2 separate regions of the Homo sapiens genome follow, and region 1 is linked to region 2. Evidence: promoter capture Hi-C in human tissues and cell types (Jung and others, 2019). All regions are on one chromosome and are shown on one strand. The core of a region is centred on a gene start or on the middle of the fragment in contact, and the rest is flanking DNA. Distances in the headings are between cores, read along the strand shown.

Evidence for each region. Contacts are between HindIII fragments. The study calls those that stand out against the background at their distance.
Region 1: a fragment that was not itself captured here is called in contact with the fragment with the promoter of RSPO4 in region 2 in 2 of the 25 tissues and cell types used here (dorsolateral prefrontal cortex and spleen).

What each region holds. Positions count from the first base shown.
Region 1 is chr20:796,970-799,903 of GRCh38, reverse strand. No RefSeq gene overlaps it. Among named protein-coding and RNA genes, the nearest start is that of SLC52A3, 30 kb to the right of the region's middle. The HindIII fragment of the contact is 3,114 bases long and covers 22-2,934 here.
Region 2 is chr20:1,000,861-1,003,560 of GRCh38, reverse strand. It overlaps RSPO4 (R-spondin 4), which reads left to right and starts at 1,250. Exons shown (of 5, transcript NM_001029871.4): 1 at 1,250-1,475. The coding sequence starts at 1,397. The HindIII fragment of the contact is 18,767 bases long and covers 1-2,700 here.

The DNA.
Region 1 (2,934 bases), core at 329-2,828, 200 kb after region 2:
CATCTGGCCTGTAGCCCCTACTTGCTCAGCTATTCCTCTAACAGTATCTCTAGTGTAGTTACTAAATCACTGTTGGTTGTAATAGATGTAGTTTATCCAATCTACATGTTTATTAATTGTCACCCACCAAGATATTGACTCAAATCCTGCAGCTATTTGATTCCAGACTTTAAATTGATCTTGTATTCTCCATGGGACCCCAATTGCGTCTAAACAGAAGTGAGAGTCTAAAGACCCATAAGGGGCTTCTCTCACTTTACGATGTCTTATTTTTCCTTCCTCTGGTTGATGAAATGCCAGGGTGAAAGGGATAGCTAGTTGGACTAAAGCACAAGTGCCAATCCAGTTATTCGGCAGAGTGTCCAGTAAAGGTCCACCACAATACCACCACACTTCTGCTAGGGGATGAACAAGGGCTGGCTGATTGGTAAGCTTTTGAAAGTTCTTTTTCTTTTTTTTCGAGAGAGAGTCTCGCTCTGTCGCCCAGGCTGGAGTGCAGTGGCACGATCTCGGCTCACTGCAAGCTCCACCTCCTGGGTTCACGCCATCCTCCTGCCTCAGCCTCCCAAGTAGCTGAGACTACAGGCGCATGACGCCACGCCTGGCTAATTTTTTTTTTTTTTTTTGTATTTTTAGTAGAGATGGGGTTTCATCGTGTTAGCCAGGATGGTCTCGATTTCCTGACCTTGTGATCCGCCTGCCTCGGCCTCCCAAAGTGCTGGGATTACAGGCATGAGCCACCGCGCCTGGCCAAAAGTTCTTAAGCTCACTGCATCCCTTCAGGTCTCCAAGGAACACTAAGTTTCCTCCCTGTCATGAGAGACACGAAGTAAACTTAGTGTTGGGAGATGGAAGCTGGATGGCCCTTGGGGGCTGACCCACAAGGTGTCAAACTTCGGGATATAGCAGAGAGAGAGCTTGGCACAACTTCTTACCCCAGGCTATAGAATCCTGGAAAAGAGCTACCATGCAGCCCATGCCCGGTCAACTGGAGGACCACCCTAGTGGAAAGGGGACAATCTGGGCCTCTGGCCTGCTGTGCGCACAAGCATAACAATTGCTTTTGTTTAACGTGTGGATGAAATATTTGATCCATTCCAACCAAACATTTACATCTTGGTATCCTGTCTCAATTGCCAGTTTGTTTTAAGTCTTTAACTTCTACCATCGCTATCTTGGCCTTGTCGTTAGATAGAGGAGGAACAATGGTTCCGTTGTGAGAGGTTTTGGAAAAAGGCTCAGAGGCAGGTGCAGACAGCAGGGGATCAAAGAAGTGCATTTCAAAGAATCCAATAGGGTCTGTCCCTGAAACTTCAGCCCCCATACCATAAAACTGGCTTAAAGAAGGGAACCAGCTTAGAAAAGAGGAAGAATTTTGTGGGCTCAAAATAATAACCTGTATAGGGTTGCACTGGTTTAGCTGAGAGTTAGTGGGCACTGTCCCTTTAGTAAAACGAATGTATGAATTTAGGAAATTACAAAAACTGGTTGGGGCAATCCATCCTTGCTCTTTAATGGTCCACAGAACTTTGGACCAACTATGGCTTAAAAGCTCTACATCACTGGGGGAAGACTCCTGGTTGCCACTGGGATCTTTATAGAAATCTCCCCAGATTAAATGGTCCCGATTCACTAATGCCTAGTCTGAGGAGAGCCAGGAGGGACAGAGGTATCTGAAGTAGAGAGCTTTCTTTGGCTTGACAAATCCCCACAGGATATAACAAGGCAAGCATCAAATGCAATAGTTGAGGTGAAATTGACTTGGTTATGTTAATAACTATATGGTCAGCAATAGAGTGAGGAAAGAAAAAAGAGTAATAGAATAGATGAAAGGGAGTTAAATTCTTCTTAGCTTTAGTTTAGTAGGGTTTTCCCCTGGGACTATGGCCCACGACTCTGGAGGGGGCGGTGCTTTCTTGACTTGGGTGTGGTGAGTCCATCCTCTCTCTGCTGTGCGGACTGCGGTTTCAGTAGTTAGGAGCACCAAGTAAGGACCTTCCCAGGCTGGCTCAAGCTTCTCCTCTTTCCAGCTCTTGATGAGGACGTGATCCCCAGGCTAATGTTGATGCACCAGGAACTCCAAGGGTGGTGCCTGTGCTAATAGACCTTTAGTTTTAAGAGAGGAGAAAGTAGAACATAGACCAAGTATATAATTTTTAAGGAATTGATCATTTGTTTCAAAGGTAGGAATATCAACAGTGGAGTGCAAATAAGGTAATCCATAGAGCATCTCATAAGGAGAAAGACCAATGTCTTTCCATGGTGCAGTTCAAATTCTCAGCAGGGTGATAGGAAGATACTTGGTCCATGGCAACCAAGTCTGTAAGACTAATTTGGTTAAGTGGTTCTTTAGAGTCTAATTCATTCTTTCTACTCTCCCTGATGAGGGTGGGTGCCAGGGAGTATGGTGTTCCCATCTAATGTCTAATATTTTGGAATAGCTTTTTAATAATGTGTGTGGTGAAATGAGTTCCATTGTCTGAGTCAGTATTTTCCGTTAGTCGAAACCTGGGTACTATATTTTCAATTAGGGCCTCAACTACATTACTGGCTGTTGCATTTGAAAAGGGGATAGCTTCGACCCAGGGAGTGAGGTGGCCTACTATCACTAGTAAATATTTTAGATGATCTATCAGAGGCATTTCTGTGTAATCAACTTAGATACTTTGGAATGGCCTTTAGCCTGGATTCCTTCCCCTGAGAGGTAATCATTTTATAGTATGTCTATTAGTTTTCTTACATACTAAGCAACTATCTGTAACCTGTTTTGCCAGGGTATAAATTCCTATACAACCATAAACTCTGAGAACTGCGTCACACATGGCCTGGGGCCCAAAATGGGTCCCCTGATGTAGTTGGGATACGACTTCCCTCATAAAGGGTTTAGACAACATTTCTCTCTGGTCTGGCAGTATCTACTTTCCTTCTGAATTC
Region 2 (2,700 bases), core at 1-2,500:
AAAAAAAGAAAAAAAAAAGAAAAGAAAAAGGAAGGACAATTGTTCAGCAAGAGAGTGTCAACTGTAAGTTTCTCTAGGCCTCCCTCCAAGGCCTCTTCCATTCTGATGAGTCTGTGCCTGAGAAGTGGCTAAGAGGGGCAGGCACTGGACCAGAATGGCCACTGACCTGCTGTGTGGCCTTGGGCAAGTCACTTGGCCTCTCTGAGCTTCCCTTTGCTCCCCAGAAAAGTGGAATTACTCAGAATACAAACCCAAACCATTGGGTTGTTTTGAAGACTCTAGTATATGTCAAGTTCTTAGCAATGCCCACCATATATGCCTCACAAATGATAGCTAGCATGATTGTTGTTGTTTTTGGTGGTTATAGTGACAGGAGAGGTGAGCATGCTGTCGGGTTGAAGGAGGAATTTTGCTCTGAAAGGGTTAAACTTGAACCAGCTGCTCCCAGTCCTGGTGATAAGGTTGGAGGAAACACAGTCCAGGTCCCCAGCCCTGTCACAAGTGGATTTATGAGGTGCTGGTCACTTTGAGTCGGAGTAGATGATCCCCGCAGACTGCACAGGAAACATTCAGGGTTAGTGGCCAGAAGGGGCTCAGGCCTCTGTTAAAAGAATGAGACAGAGTAGAGAGAAAAAGAGAAAGCCAGGCAGCAGGAGCCCCGCAAACACCCCACCCTGCAGGAGGGGAGAAGGGGAGAGATGGGGTTGAAGGGAGAGACAGAGAAAAGGGAGAACCAGAGGCCCAGCCAGGAGGACACAGACAGTGAGCCTGAGAGAGAGACGGCCGGCAAGAGTAAAGGATGCAGGAACAGCCAGGCAGGGTCGGGGGCAGAGCAGGGGAGCGCGGGCCGCGGAAAGACCGAGAAAGCAGGAGACAAGGAGTTGTCCTTAAGGGCCAGAAGGAGGAACAGACAGAGAAAGGGGACTGGGGGGAGGGAAAGAAAATCACAGGCGCTGAGAGGGCGCGGGGGACCGTACGGGTCTCCGGGTGTCCGCGCATCTGTACCTGCGCGCGCGTGCGTACCTGTGGCTGGCGGTGGGCACGTGCACGTGCTCGGGGGCAGTGCTGGGGGCGGGAAAGACGCAAGACCGCCGGCTGCGGGACAGATCGAACTCGAGGGCCCCGACCCGGGTGACCCCCGCCCCCTCCCCGCGCGCGCTCCCGGGCCCCGAGCTGGTTAACGCGCCGCCCCCGCCGCGCCGGCTCCTCCCCGCCAGGGCAGTGCCCCGGCTCCGCCAACGCCCTCACTAGACCTGGCGGCCGGACCGACCCGCGCCTGGCGGATGCGCCCGGCGCGCCCACAGCAGCCCCCGCGCCCGCCGTGCCGCCGCCGGGACGTGGGGCCCTTGGGCCGTCGGGCCGCCTGGGGAGCGCCAGCCCGGATCCGGCTGCCCAGATGCGGGCGCCACTCTGCCTGCTCCTGCTCGTCGCCCACGCCGTGGACATGCTCGCCCTGAACCGAAGGAAGAAGCAAGGTACAAGGGGTGGCTGGGCAGGGCGGCCGGGCAGGCGCTGCGGGGCAGACCGGGGGCCGGAGGACCGGGGGCGGCGGCTCTGGGGGCATCTGCCTGGTGCCTGGCGCCCTGGGTCCTTCGCTCCTCCAGACGAGTCTCAACCTCACTTAAGATGGGGAGATTGAGGCTCCAGGGCACCCAGTGAGCGAGCCATTGAGTAGGGTGGGCCAAGGAGACTCACCCAGAAGGGAGAGGGTAGCAGGGCTCTCTGTAGTAGCCGCATGGTCAGCAGAAAGGAGGATGGCTTCGTGCAGAGACAGAAGACTCAAGAGCCAGCCTGCGGGGCACAGGGACTAGGAGACAGACTCAGTGGCGTAGAAGCCATTCCAAGCATCCATGCTCGGCCAGGAAGTGACATAGAGAGCCTTGGGCTGGGCGTCCAGAGGCCCCAGTCCCAGCCTCATCACTCACCCTGACTCCTGGTGTCACCTCCCAGAGGGCAGTGATCCTCCATGGCCCCCCTATGTTGAGTTCAGCCAGACCTGAGACCTGAGTTCAGGTTCACTTATTCTAATAGGGGATGACCTAGAAGAAGTCCAGCCCCTCAGAGAGCCTCAGCTTTTCCATCTTCACCTCTCAGGCCACTAGGAAGATGAGCCAAGGTTCAGATTATAAATGTACCAGGGGCCGCATGCGCTCTCACCTGGGAGTCCTATGCCACAGCCTCGCTGTGAGAGTCAGAACATCCTCAGAAGGTGGGTTGGAGGCTGTCCCTGCAGAGCAGGAGTTGGTAGAGCCTGTGCCTCAGAGAAGGGTAAGCGGGTGAGCAAGTGAGCAAATCGCCTGCCTGAGCTGGGCAGCCCTTTGGCCTCCAGGTGCCACTCTTAAGATCAGCAGCCGAATGCCAGCCACTATGCCACGGGTTTTTCATGTCCTAGCTCATCAAATCCCAACTATATGCTCATGACATAGGGGTCGTCCAGTTTTAATAAAGCCTGGGATTCCAAGGCTCAGACTGGTTTAAATAACTGCTGAATTGTCCAGCTGGTGTCTTCTCTCTTTCCAGCCCTGGCATCGGGTCTGAGCAAGGATAAAGGGGAAGGAAAATGAGAGAGGATGGGTTGCCCTCTGGGGCCTTCCATTTGTGTGAAAGCCCTACAGCGACACAGTCACTCCTGGAACGGAGCAGGAAGCAGACAGAGGCTGTGGGAGAATTGGGAGGTGGGATTGGATGGGGTTGGGGAGA